Linked DNA regions of Homo sapiens: region 2 is linked to region 1. Evidence: promoter capture Hi-C in 16 types of primary human blood cells and fetal thymus (Javierre and others, 2016). All regions are on one chromosome and are shown on one strand. Each heading gives the region's core, a stretch centred on a gene start or on the middle of the fragment in contact. The rest is flanking DNA. Distances are from core to core; before and after follow the strand shown.

Evidence for each region. Contacts are between HindIII fragments. The CHiCAGO score rates a contact against its expected background, and 5 or more counts as called.
Region 2: a fragment that was not itself captured here is called in contact with the fragment with the promoter of BTBD9-AS1 in region 1 in 2 of 17 cell types (endothelial precursors and M1 macrophages); the score reaches 5.3 in endothelial precursors.

What each region holds. Positions count from the first base shown.
Region 1 is chr6:38,476,773-38,484,310 of GRCh38, forward strand. BTBD9-AS1 (BTBD9 antisense RNA 1) reads left to right here and starts at 4,824. Exons shown (of 2, transcript NR_144472.1): 1 at 4,824-5,014; 2 at 5,295-5,755. The region is part of intron 6 of BTBD9 (BTB domain containing 9); the gene reads right to left. RefSeq lists an enhancer at 614-1,137. The HindIII fragment of the contact is 1,570 bases long and covers 3,452-5,021 here.
Region 2 is chr6:38,235,412-38,241,941 of GRCh38, forward strand. The region is part of intron 9 of BTBD9 (BTB domain containing 9); the gene reads right to left. Among named protein-coding and RNA genes, the nearest start is that of BTBD9-AS1, 240 kb to the right of the region's middle. The HindIII fragment of the contact is 907 bases long and covers 4,286-5,192 here.

The DNA of each region.
Region 1 (7,538 bases), core at 3,574-6,073:
ACAGCGTATCCAGCTTTATATTATTCAGTATAGACACATGGGAAAAGAGCAAACAGTTTTTCTAACAGATTTCTCTGCCTCAATGCCAATATGGCAAATAATCATAGGAAAATGTTATTACTATACCTAATTTTCCCTTGGAGCTTTTAAATAGAAACTTTTGTTAACTGATTTTTAAAATATGCACAGGGAGTGAGGACAGCAACAACACTACATGGGGCCCTGCCAGTGACATTCAGGCTTCAGAGAGGTGACACCTGGGATGGGTGGGGTTCTGAAGATTAATAAGGGCTGAGGACCAGGGGATGCATCACAAAGACAGATGTCTATCCTAAAAGGGAAGAGCTCCTGAAATGGCATGAATTCCACTGAGGGAGAAGTTGGGGAAATGAAATGAGAAAGCTTAATCTGCGCTTTCTTTCTCTAATTACTGGGGATGACAATCAAAATTAGAGGAGAGTAAAGTAATCCAGATGTACAAGGAACAGAAGCAAAATGAAGTAGTTAAAAGACATTTTATTAGAGACTAAGAGCGATTCACTTCAACTAAGTGTTACCTAGTACCTACTATGTGCTAGCTGTAACATCGAAATACAATTGAATAGACAGGGCTTATTTTGTAAGAGCAAACTCTCATCTACAGGACATGCCAGGGGCAGAATCATGCTTACAATAAGATGCTCAGAAGCAAGACTGTCTTTTCCTTTATACCTAAAAAAGCTTGTTTAGCAAACAGAGTTATCTTTATCTGAAATGCTTCTAATCCTGTGCTTTGTATTTATATCCATACCTTTTAGATAAGACCTACTTTATTGCCAATTCTCACATTTTACTGAGCTAACGAGCAGTATCTATATTTGCTGATTTTATTTTCTGTCACCCTAGTGTTATCATAACTTAATGCTATCAGGGAATAGGAAAGAATCAATGCTGATTATAGTTAAGAAAGCGAGGATGAAAGCAATACGAACTGGGGGTATTTGAATTTGTAAAGCCTCTACAGGAGGTCTTCTTATCCTCGAGTCATTTAAGAATTACTCACTTAACTCAAACTGAGCAACGATGCCACGAACACATCAAGTAAAGCCATCAGTGGCTCTGTGGTGAGGCAGCATGGTTTAGTGGAAAGACAATTCACACAAGGTCTTTAGAGTCAGGTGAACCCGTTTTTGAAATCTGGCCCCATCACTTTTTAAAAACGGTGCAACCTCTCTGGGCTTCAATTTCTTCATCTGTAAGAATGAGAATACCCCTGCTGCCACAGGGATGTTATACAGGATTAGGTAAGACAAAAAGCATGTGTGAGTGCCTAAGAGGAAGCAGCATGTGGTCAATACATGCTGTTTCCTCTCTTTTCCCTCAACTGCTTCCTACCAGGAAGGGGGAGGGGGTCAGAAGTTTAAAAATTTTACCACCAGTCTCTGATTACGTGCGTATATATGTGAGGAGAAACATGTGCAAAGGAAGGTTATATATTTCTGAGTACTGGGCTCTCATGAGCTTTGCCACCTTTAAAATATTTTGGTTTTATTTTATTGATTTTGACTATCATATTAGCTTACTCATATATATCATCTGACACATCCATTTACTGGTCTTTTAAGCATCTCTGGGCATGTGGATGCTTGAAAAATAGTTTATTAGTATGATTTGACTATCTCTATCTTGTCTCCTATTTTTTTTAGAGAATTACATGGCCGGCAGTGAGGATGGTGTCAAATCTCATCAGTCATCTACAACCACTTTCTCTGACCCTTTCTGCATCATTGAATTTGACTCCCTTTCTTCCCATACTCTCCTTAGAGGACCTAAGAGGAAATGTGCATGGGCAGACAAAACAGAAAACTAAAGGAGGGAAGATAAGTGGGTTCTTGGCTTCCGGAAGGATTCTGACCTACTTCACTTGCCTTCAAATTCTGTGTGAATTTATTTCAGAAGCTACAGGGAAGAGCTAAGAACTCCTGTTTTCCTTGGAGAAGGGAAGAAACAAATGCCAGATTAAAACTCAGAGGAAACTCTGGAAATTATAAGCGAGGCTGCTACTATATAATGACCAAGTCGCCTTGGTATGTCTTGTGAGCTAAAATTCCATTTCACTTTTATCATATATAAAACCAGGATTATAGCTCCAGGAGGAGCTACAATCTGTGTTCTCTTTGGTCTATCTGAACATCCCAAATAGTATCACAGTCTACCTGAAGAAGTGCTGCTGAAATAGACTGACAATGCTTCAATTATTTTGGCTGCAGGCAAAGACAAAATAAGTCTCAGGAGTTCTCCAAAAGCTCAAAAAGTTCTCTGTAAACTATGCTGTTATCAAATGGAAACTACAAGAACGCGACCAACACCACAGGAGGAGAGATTTCCCTGGGCTTTGCTCTGGCTATGAAAGAGTTTCCAAATATACAATGAAAAGTCAGTGGAACCTGACAGGCGCCCAATGTGGAGCACAGGGGTTCAGACACACAACCCCTCCAGCTCCTCTCCCGACGGCTTCCCACCCACTGAGCACTGGCCAAACCCTGGTTAAGCGAGCACTGACCTTCCTGTTTATCTGATAATCCACACAGTGTAGATGGGAAAAAATTGAAAGATAGAAAGGAGGAAGCATAAAAAAAATCATTTCCTCAATGTTAGTAAAAACATAAATTGGTTACATGACAAACATGAGGTGGTGACTATGTTAATGGTACAATGGCAAAGTTATTACAATCTTTGGAAGAAAAAAAAAATCCCATTTCTTCACAACTTTCCAACATTTTAAAATCCAAGCCCAGGCTTGAATCACTGCTTTATGAGGTAACACTCCCTTTCTGACTGCATCCGTGTGACTGGGCCACCAAGTCCCACTGATGTAGTTGGTATTACTACTGCTCAATCAACACCTCTCAGAACAACAACTTTCACTTCAGAATCCAAGCCTCAAGTTATAGGGGGCACTAAAATCTTTTTTTATTTTTATTTTTATTTTTAAAAGACAGGATCTGGCTCTGTCGCCCAGGCTAGAGTGCAGTGGCGTGATCTCGGCTCACTGCAACCTCCACCTCTCGGGCTCAAGCAATCCCGCTGCCTCAGCCTCCTGAGTAGCTGGGACTACAGGTGTGCACCACCATGCCCAGCTAACTTTTGTATTTTTGGTAGAGAAAGGGTTCCGTCATGTTGCCCAGGCTGGTCTGGAACTCCTGGGCTCAAGCGATCCTCCTGCCTCGGCCTCCCAAGGTGTGGAGATTACAGGCATGAGTCACTATGCCCAGATGAGCACTAAAATCTTTAAATAAACGCTCTTTTCTATAGACTGCTAAGAGAAATAGAAGGGAAAAAAGCAATACAATACTTAAGATTTACTGGAGAAGTACTACTGGGAATTGAGGGGAGAGTGTACTCTTTGGAAACAGATAAACGTAGCTCTGAAACCCTGCCTTGCTCCTTGCTAGCTGCATGATTCTGAGCAAGCTTCTTGATACTCAGCTTCCTCATCCATAAATACGGGGAGCAATGCACTTCCTTTGCAGGGCTCTTGTGGGCTGAGAGACAGCATGCATTCAACACTCAGAGTACCTCTCCTTTGTCGGTGCTCAATAAACAGTAGCTCATCTCTGCCATTCCTGGAGTTAAGGCAGAAGACCCACAGTACAGCACTCTGCTTAGGAGCTCTTATGAAAGTGTAGGTCAGATTGGTGCAAGTCCTGTCAAATGGGCATTGGTGGGTTACACAATCTGCTTTTAGCCTCTCATTTAAATTAAGCATGGGCCAGAACATCAAACTCTTTTCAAGAAATCAGTGCTGTAACTGGGACCCTGAGACTACCTCCATGCAAAGTAGTATATAAGTAAAAAGCTCTAATTTTGCTTGTAGCTCAGCTATAGAACACGCCAAAACCCCCCACCAAACCCACTGTTCTAAGTAATGGAAGTGTACTCTGAGAACCATCTGAAAAGAAGCCTGACAACTTGCCTGTCTTATTCCCCACCTGACCTCAATCTTTCTTCCTCTGAGTGGATGATTCCAGTGCCAGTTTTAGATCCAGTGCCTACCCAAGATTTGGCGCTTCCCAAACAGACTGTAGTGTTGGTAGACAGCATATAGCCATCACACAGGCTGACACTAAGAGATAGTGGGTATGAATGTGCGCTCTGTGCAAAATCCTCATGGGGAAGGAAGGCAACACCTGGGTACCTTTGGCAATGTAAAAATTCCCTTCTTTTAAAAATGCTCTTTAAACAAAGAGCTTTATATCTAGACTCAAAAATGCCTTTCCATCAGTATCAGCTTCTCCCAGGTAAAAGGAAGTGAAGACAGAAACAATGGAAATCCCATTGAGTAGGGAGAGGCAAAACAGAAAGGTTTATTCTAACGTGAGAGGAGCCCATGATGATGTGAAAGGGAAAGAAGAGAGAAGAATGGCATATAACCTGGAAGATTCAAGTACATTCACAGATAGATACTTTCCCAAGGTGTGCAGGAATCTAGCCCTTCTTCAAGGAGACAACCATAGCATCATATAATTCAAATTAATTCCTTTCTGAATGAGAGCTGAGTAACAAAGACAAAACTTGGCAAGATGGCACAGCACAGTGAGTGCAAAATTGTATTCCCAGTTGATACTTGGTGAGATGTTAGGTTGTCAGCTTAATGTAAAATAAAATGAGGCCGCACATCGTAAAGTGTTTTGAAAAGTAAAAATCCAAGGGAGATAGGAAGGCAGCATTTTAATGAGTCTAGAGAAAATGAATTCCAGGGTGAGCAGCTCTGCTCACGACCTCTTTTCAGTTGGTATCCCATAGGCCTCTGGGAAGCGGGGCACATGAGGGAGGGGCCAGTGCCTGCCTCCACACTACCCCCTCTCCCCTAATGAGGCTGGCAGCACCATTTGCTAGCACCTGGCAGATGAGAGAGAAAGAAAACCTGGTGTGGAGACCCCCATCCATTAAAGGCAAGAGAGTGAAAAGTGGGAGAGAAAGCTCCCAAGTTCAACAGCAGTGACCTAGGGTCATGCAGTGAGGACTTACAAAGGTATAAAAGCTTCTTTATTCAGGTGGTTCCTTTCAGCGCAACTTATTTGATGATGCTTAATGCAGGCAGTTAAAAGAACAGTTCAGTTGGATATAACTTACAGTACGTCACACAAATCTGGAGTGCCCAAGGAACATTAGTTTCAGGGAACACACTGAGATTATAACCAGCCTTTTTGCCAGGGGCAGCTTGTAACTCAGAAAGTCATGTTTCATTTAGGATGTGCTGTATAATGTTGAAGGGGAAAGTAACTATTTTGTTTTGTTGTGTTTCTTCCCAGTCCAAGAAGAAAGCATTTGGAGAAGTGCTACACATGCTCAACTGAACTTCCTGTCAAATTGTTCTCACTCGTTTGGGCACAAGTCTGCTTAAGCCATCTCTCATTAACATTTACTCTTGCCCGAAGCCCTCTACGCCCCCAACCCCTGCTAATCTTCCACAAGCAAGCTGATCACACTGGGATCTCCTTTTCCCAGACACGTTTGATTCTCACTTTCTCCTGAACCTAGAAATGTGCTTCCCACCAAAGCATGCCAGGCACTAACTCGTCCCTACTGAAAGGGGCTGTTAAAAGCTCATCTTCTTTCCAGATGGTAGTGAGGTGTGAGGTGATCCTTTCTCTTTCTTTTTTTTTTTTTTTTACTTTTAGCTACCCCTCAATTCTGGTGTTCAGTAACAATGTATTCCACTTAAAAGAGAGAAATCATATTAATTATTCTAAGATATAAACACTTAATTTTATTCATGCTCTTGAATTACTTTCCTTTCTACCGCATGTTTGTGTAGCTGTTATATGAGTCCTTTCTACTGATGTAGCTGTCATTCCTTCAACTCAGTTCTTGCCAAACACTGAGCTATGTCTGGAGATACAAAGATAACTACTCTTGTTGAAGAGATGCCAGTTTAGTGGGGGAGACAGACATGTAAACAGATCTGTATCTGAGATAGATGGCCTGGGTAGGAAAAGAATATATATAGCACAAATAACTCAGTGGACCTGCAAAAACAGAGCTTGAGGCCATGATATACCACAAAGACCCACCAAGGCACAAGCACTGTCAACATGAAGGTAAGGCTTCCATTTTTGCCTCTTTCAATCTGGGTACATCTATTCTACATACTCTGCCTTTCCTCCTGTTACAGGAAAAGAAGGAACCTCAATTCTACCTAAAGTCAATCTTCTCCTTGAGCTAGAGATCCAGCCCCTCTCCCATAATGAGGTACACGGCCCCTACAAAGATCCACTCTCCTGCATTATCAAATCCTCCCTCCCTGTGGTATCATTCCAGTCCACACACACACATACCTTAACATCATCCTCCCTTGACCCTAGGTCCCCCTCCATCCTCTTCATCATTTCTCTGCTTCCCCTCCCAGTGATACTTTATCTTCTACATGTATTGCTACCCCTATTCCCTCAGCCTCTATTCCCTTCTCCCTTGACTCCACTGAAATGGCTCTTAAAGGACGCCACTAAGCTCTATCTTGCTACAACCAGGAGTCGATTTTCTGTTACCTACTGCCCTCTCCCATCTCCCCTCCTCATACCGAAAGACTGACTTTTTAAGACTTCCATGAAAATGTTGTCCTTGTTTTCTTCCTGCCTCACTGGCAGCTCCTTCCCAGTCTCTTGTATTCACTTTTCCTTGCCCACCTGCTGTCTGGTCTTCCCTATAGTCCATTCTCACACTAGATCACACTAGAGTTATCTTTCAAAAATCTCAACTACCATCACCTGGTTTAAACCCTTCTATGGTTTCCCATCATCCTTAGAATTCGACACTATCAAGTCCCTGTAGGACATGGCTCCTGTCTATCTGTCTGCCCTCATTGCTAAACATACCTTCCTCCCAACACCCTACAGACTATCTACCCACCAGATTTCAGAAACACATGGCCTTCTTTCTGTTCCTCAAAAACCCCAAGCTAGTTTCTACTTCACAGCCTTTACTCTTGCTGTTCCCTAGCCTGGAACACTTCTCCCTTAGATTGCTGCATAGCCAAGCCAACTTCTTGTAATTCAAGTTTTGGCTCAACTCACTTCCTCAGAAAGGCCTTCCCTGACCGTTCTGCTCAAGTGCTCCTTCCCCAAACTCAACCACTGGCTAGCTTATTCCCCCATTCCAATTTTGTCAAACTATGACTAGTCAGTATCACATTTATTTCTTTACATCTCATTTTTCTCTCTCTCCTACTACAATGTAAACTGCGTTAAGCAACAACTTAATCTCGTTTACTGCTATATGTCTACTTCCAGGCACAGTGTTTAGTATATTGTGGGTGCTCCGTAAACATTTTACTCAATGGATAAATGAAATGACGATGAAATCCTTGTTTAGAATCCTGTGTTCAGCTCTTTGCTCTTCAACTGTAGACATGCACAGAAGCATAAAGGTGAGACATAATAACTAGTGCACAGGGAAATCAGACCTATGAAACTAGAACTAGAATTACTAAGGAAGTGTTATATTTTTATTCTTCAGGGGTAATCATTAGTTGTTTTTTAAATGTCTAATGAGGATTA
Region 2 (6,530 bases), core at 3,489-5,988, 240 kb before region 1:
CTGACATGCAAACAGAGCTACAAAGAGGGAAATGATTCTGAAACCTGAGCTAGTGAGGAGGGCTCAGGTTTTGCTGCAAACTCCATCTGGCTCCCAGTACCACTGGCTGAAGTTTAACAAATGAGATCACCATATTTCAAGGTTTAAGATAGGGAGGGGTCAGTGACAAAGATGAGCTTGACGTGCTCATCTTAGCAGCTCATGGCCCCAAATGTAGGGTGCACACCAGATGGAAAAGGTCACAGGAGACCAACAGAAATCAGGTAAAGGAATGACACAATAACACAGTAACAGAGATATCTGTAACTGACACTTCCTATTTTCATTGAAATGTCTGCTTTACTCAAAGGTTTTCATATGTGAGTATTCAGCTGACCCTTGGATCTTCCCTTTTTTGTGCCAGGGATCTCTCTGGCACTCTGTGAAGCATATGAATCCCTTCTCAGAATGTTTTCAAATGTATAAAATAGAACACACAAGAAACCAATGTTACTGAAGTACAGTTGTGTGCACAGACCCCTTGGGCATAGTGACAATGAAAGACCCCTGGCCCGAGGTAGAAAGGGTAGGCTTTATCAGCTGGGAAAACAGGGCTGCGTATGGGACAGGACATCAGAGTCGGGAAACTGAGACTCTGGATCTCTTTACAGCCAGAACTCTTATTTTTCAAGAAAACATAAGTTAGATGTTCTTATGTAGGAAAGGAATGCCTCACTTAAGAAATAATAAAAACAGCAACAGCTTTGACACTACTTTTCCATACCCTCTTTTAGATGCGTTTCTCCTCTTCATCCCCTTTTCCAAATACAATGGAGACCAGGAACTAGCAACACTACTATAGATTTTAGGTCCTCTCTGAAACCACAATTCTCAGTTCTCCAGAGCTCCCATTTCCCACTTTACTTTTCATTTGTAGTAAAATTAACAAATCATATGACCTAGACATTTCTAAAGACTACTGGTCTGTGACATCATTTCAAACCATCCCCAAACCTGAAATCCAAATAGCCAACATCCTAACAGAGGCTAAAGAACAAAGCACAAACCCAGTGAAGGGGAAACCACTTCTGTTTTGAAGGAAAGACTCATTTGGATTACGACAGTTAGCCAACACACGCAGGTCTGTAATGGGGGATATCTCCATATAAAATTCCTAAGTAAAAGGGTCACAAGAACTATAAATCCTAATTTAATTCAGCCAATCTAAGTAAATCCCAAAGAAACATGCTGGGCTAGAAATCAAATCCCAGTAAACAACTGGAAAATGTGGGCACAGTAATATGAGGACTCCAGAGATTTCTGCAGCAAATGGATTGTTCTAATGACATTTGATTAAAAATCTGCTTCCACCTGGGTCAGTGCATTTCATGTGCAGAGTGGATTCAGTTCCGCATGCAGAATAAAAATTTCAATGGAAGGCACAGTGGGAGGAAGAAAACAATAGCTCCCCAAACCCACAGTCATTGAATGTTGTGTCCAGGTTCAGATCTGGGAAACAAAGAACTGTGAGATGAGAGATGGCTGTGCCAAATGAACAGGATGCATTTTCCCTGAGCATCACTGCAAAAGGGGCCCAGGGGAAGCCTGATCTCAGGCCAAACACACACTTTTCCTACACCTCACTGCTCAGTAGCTGAACTCTGTAAAGGTGCAACTCACTTGCTTTTTAGTTTTGTCTTCATAAATTGCACACTTGTCTGTGATTTGGACAAATTTTTAAGCAGACACGGAAAGCAAACAATCATTCAACTTCAGTTTGCTTTGTAGGTGACACTTAGGAAGAGTCAGTGTATTGGAGAGTCTTTTTGAGGTGTATGTTGTTTTCAAATCAGACTACAGGCAAGTAGTCTATCTTTTCTTTTCTCCCTAACTCCACACAGAGCTCCACATAGAGAGGGGATCTATCATTCTGATCAACAAATCCAACTTTTTGTGCCAAAAGGGCAAAATAATTTCTTAAATGTAAGGTCAGTTCAAACAACTCCTGCATGTTAGTTGCCACCATTCACTAATATCCTGGTTTTAGCAAGTCAGATGCACCAAAGTACCAGGAAGGCCACCTGTGTGGAGATAAATGGCAGTCCCCGGTGATCATGGAAGTACCAGGGCTCCCATCAACATGATTCATAAAATCACATGATATCACAAAATCAACAGTTTCTGGTCTTGCTTAAGCCATCTGATAGGAGTAAATGGTTACCAAGATGCCTACAGAAACTAATGAATGAATAGATAATGCCAGCTATATCTCAGAAAGAAGAAAAGATAATCTGATGAAAAAACAATCTTAATTCCTTACAAAAAAGTGCTGAATCTTATGGTATTTCAAGTGTCAAGAAAAAATAAACAGATGACTTTAAAGAGAGGTGGGGAGGGTTACAATGTAAAGCATTTGTCTGTTTCCTTTTCAATGGTATTTTCCAATGTTTTAAAAAAAAAAAATCAGCCAGATATGGTAGCTCATGCCTCTACTCCCAGCACTTTGGGAGGCTGAGGCAAAAAGACTGCTTGAGGCCAGGAGTTCGAGACCAGCCTGGGCAATAAAGAGAGTCCCTGTCTCTATTTAAAAAAAATAGAAAAATTAGTTGGGCATGGTGGTGGCATGTGCCTATAGTCCCAGCTACCTGGGAGATGGAAGCAGGAGGATTGCCGGAGGCTAGGTTTAGAAGCCTAGGTGACAGAGCAGGACTTTGTCTCTTAAAAAACAAAACAAAATCAGCAAGCACCTCATTCAATCTTTTTTAAACAAAAAATTTGAAGAAATTGATTCTGAGCCAAATATGAGTGACCAATGGCCTGTGATACAACCCTCAGGAGGTCCTGAGAACAAGTGCTCAAGGTGGTCATTTGGGGCACAGCCTAGTTTTATACATTTTAGGGAGACGTGAGACGTCAATCAAATACATGTAAGATTTACATTGGTTCCACCTGGAAGGGTAGGGCAACTCAAGGACGGGTGCTTCCAGGTCATTAAAAATTTTCTGATTGGCAATTGGTTGAGAGTTATTATCAACAGAAAGGAATGTATGCTTTACAGTAAGCTGTTGCGGAGACCAAGGTTTTTTGTTTTTTTTTTTTTGAGACGGAGTCTCGCTCTGTCGCCCAGGCTGGAGTGCAGTGGCACGATCTCGGCTCACTGCAAGCTCCACCTCCCGGGTTCACACCATTGTCCTGCCTCAGCCTCCCGAGTAGCTGGGACTACAGGCGCCCACCACCACGCCCAGCTAATTTTTTTGTATTTTTAGTAGAGACGGGGTTTCACCGTGTTATCCAGGATGGTCTCGATTTCCTGACCTGTTGATCCGCCCACCTCGGCCTCCCAAAGTGCCAGGATTACAGGCGTGAGCCACCGCGCCTGGCCGAGACCAATGTTTTATCATGCAGGTGAAGCCTCCAAGTAGTAGGTTTCAGACAGAATAGACTGTAAATGTTTCTTATCAGACTTGAGATCTGTGTTGATGTTAATGCTGGTCAGCTTTCCCTGAATTCTAAAAGGGAAGAGGGTATAATGAGACATGTCCGACCCCTGCTTCCATCATGGCCTGAACAAGTTTTTCAGGCTAACTTTCTAATGCCCTTGGCTGAAAGAAGGGGTCCATTTGGATGGTTACTCCATTCAATCTTAATGGGGTGGGACTCGGGAGAAGAGTACAGAACATAAAAGGCCCTCTTCCTCTCTCAGGAAAGGACACCAAGTCATCTAGTGCAAGTTCACTTTACACTTCAGATATAATCTCTTGGCCAGGAGCGGTGGCTCATGCCCATAATCCCTGTAATCCCAGCACTTTGGGAGGCCGAGGTGGACAGATCACGAGGTCAAGAGATCGAGACCATCCTGGCCAACATGGTGAAACCCTGTCTCTACTAAAAACACAAAAATTAGCTGGGCGTGGTGGCGCACGTCTGCAGTCCCAGCTACTTGGGAGGCTGAGGCAGGAGAACTGCTTGAACCTGGGATGTGGAGGTTGCAGTGAGCCAAGATCGTGCCACTGCATTGTAGCCTGGCGACAGAGCAAGACTCTGTCTCAAAAAAAAAAAAAAAAAAAAAAGATATAATCTCTTATAGGAAATTTAAAACAATAACCTGAGACATGGCAGTTTTATCACCCAAGCTACTGGGCTAAGCTTCAGGATACCAAACCCTTGAGTAAAAAGCACAGCCAGGAGACAGCTAAAAGGAGCTTAAGAATGTATATAGTCATTTTATTATAAATGGCTACTCTGGAGCCAATATACTTGACTTTGACTTTTTTAAGGCAAGATTAACCATGACACATTTTGGTCAAGCTTAGGAAACAACTTGCTAATAATCTATCTTGTGAAAAAAGATGCCTCTGGAAATTCATCATATTGGTGGAGGGAGAAAACACCTACATTTTGGCTGTCACTAAAAGCCAAACAGAAACTTCCTGTTTTCAAGGGTCAGTGGAAAATTACTGCTTATTATATAGTATTACATTTACAGAAACTGCAAGTGCTCATCACAAACTGAACGTCACACTTACCTTATCAGAAAGAGCAGCCTGGCACTGGCACAGGAGTGCAACAAAACACGGTCAATTTACTAAGCCTCCCGATAGCCAAGGTTATTGTTGGCAATACAAAAGGTAACAAAGGAGTGGACTGGCTGAGCGTGCAAGGCTGCTATCCTGCCATCTCTGGGAAGATCTGAGCTCAAGGCACACCTGAACTTCCCTCCAGCAGGCTGAAGAGAGAACGAGTGATTTTCTTGTATCCACCAAGGCCAGGCCCATTCCATCTAGGTAGTAAGTACTTCCAGATTTAGCATGCTGCCTACTCCCATAAATGTTATCCCTACTGAGTCACTCAGAGAAGATTTGGTCTAACTCCATGTGTCAGAATCCACAAATGCCTCTATTTGCATTGGGATCAAGGCCCCTCAGTCTCAGCTGGTCCTGAGCCAATTGGGAAGGCTTAATTAGTGAGCCCATGAGAGGAGGGAAGTGCCCAGCACAGAGCCTGACCTAAAGCAGTGGCTCAAAATATGTCCACTAAATTAATGCCTAGATAAATATCAGACTTTTGAGTTAACATAAGCCCATGCCCTACAGTTTAGGGTTCCTGGCAGGGAAATGATTCAATAGTATTTGAATGATAATTTTAATTAAGGAAATGGCAAAAGAAGAAAATACTGCCTGAAAATATCAGTGGTTCTATCCCCCAAAATGAAAAGCTTAGAAAATTGTGCCCTGTGTTCCCTTCTCATCTCCTCAGAAATTCATAAAGTTAATTAATATTAATGTAAGAACACCATATTAAAGCAATGTGAAGGCATAAATTTGAAAATCAGACTAGAAATTCAAAAATGAAGGCATTTGGAATTGTAGATTCACAGTACGTGCCATGTCTAACTAAAAACTTGATTACTTCTTAATGTTATTGTGGCTCTGTCTTCACAGGGCAATTGAGGCTTTCAATTAGCCTACCAGATCCACGCTCAAACGGGCAGAGGCTGTGATAGGAGGGGCTCAGTGGTGCTCCGAGAACACCAACTCTGAAGTCCTGTTGGTTTAAATCTGTGACCCTGACACTAGATTAATGTAGATTTGGGTTTTGATCTTAATTAGGAAAAATGAATTCTGAAGATTCAGAAATGTGAAACAAACAAACAAGCTTCCAGGAGCCCCTCCTTCTCCCACCCTCAGCATACCCTAAAGAAAAGACTATACATTTCAAAGCTCCAGCATCAGAATTTCTATTAAGCTTATATGTCCACTGCTAAATCCTACAGAGAATTCAGTAACTCTCCAGAGAATCAGGAAGGAAAAAAGAACGATATAAACAAGTTCTCTCCTCTAATAGAGCAGTACCAACATATGCTATCTTCCTTTGCCTAAGAATCACCTCACAGCAGAAATTTACACTAAGGCTCTGAGAACCGCAGATGAGGAAGCAAGCAGTATTATCCAGTCTTCCTCATCTGAGGAAAACCACGAACTCTCTGGGACAAATTTAATGTGCAACATTGCCTCAAGGTAGAAGGCCGAACAAGATGACCACTCATCAGGTCAAGATTGCTAAGCCACATTACTAGGAATACAAACATTCTTTTGCTCCATTTAGGTTTATTACATGGGCTCCATACTGTTGTATAAATTTGGATAAAGAAGTGAAAAGTGTATGAGCAGAAAGCACTCGCAAACTCCCTCCAAAGCAGCTGGTAAATGTGTGCAATTCCAGATGATCACCACTCTGAAACTATACTTTAGAACTTTGTAAGAAATGTTTATTACTGATACTCAGTACATAATTTATAACACCACGGTGAAATTCACTTACATTCCATTTCAAGGGATGGTGAAAAGAAAATGTCAACTGTGGGGAAAATATGCTTTATAGAGCTTGGCTTAAAACAGAGGGAAAAAAACCACACATGCAAGTCTCTTTTCGTGGAAGGAAACAGTCTAATAAATGGCCTAATGAACAGTGTAATGATTTTTTTTAAGTAGGCAATAGGAAGGAAAAGGGAAGAAAAACAGGCTAATATACTCTACAACCTGAATAATGAA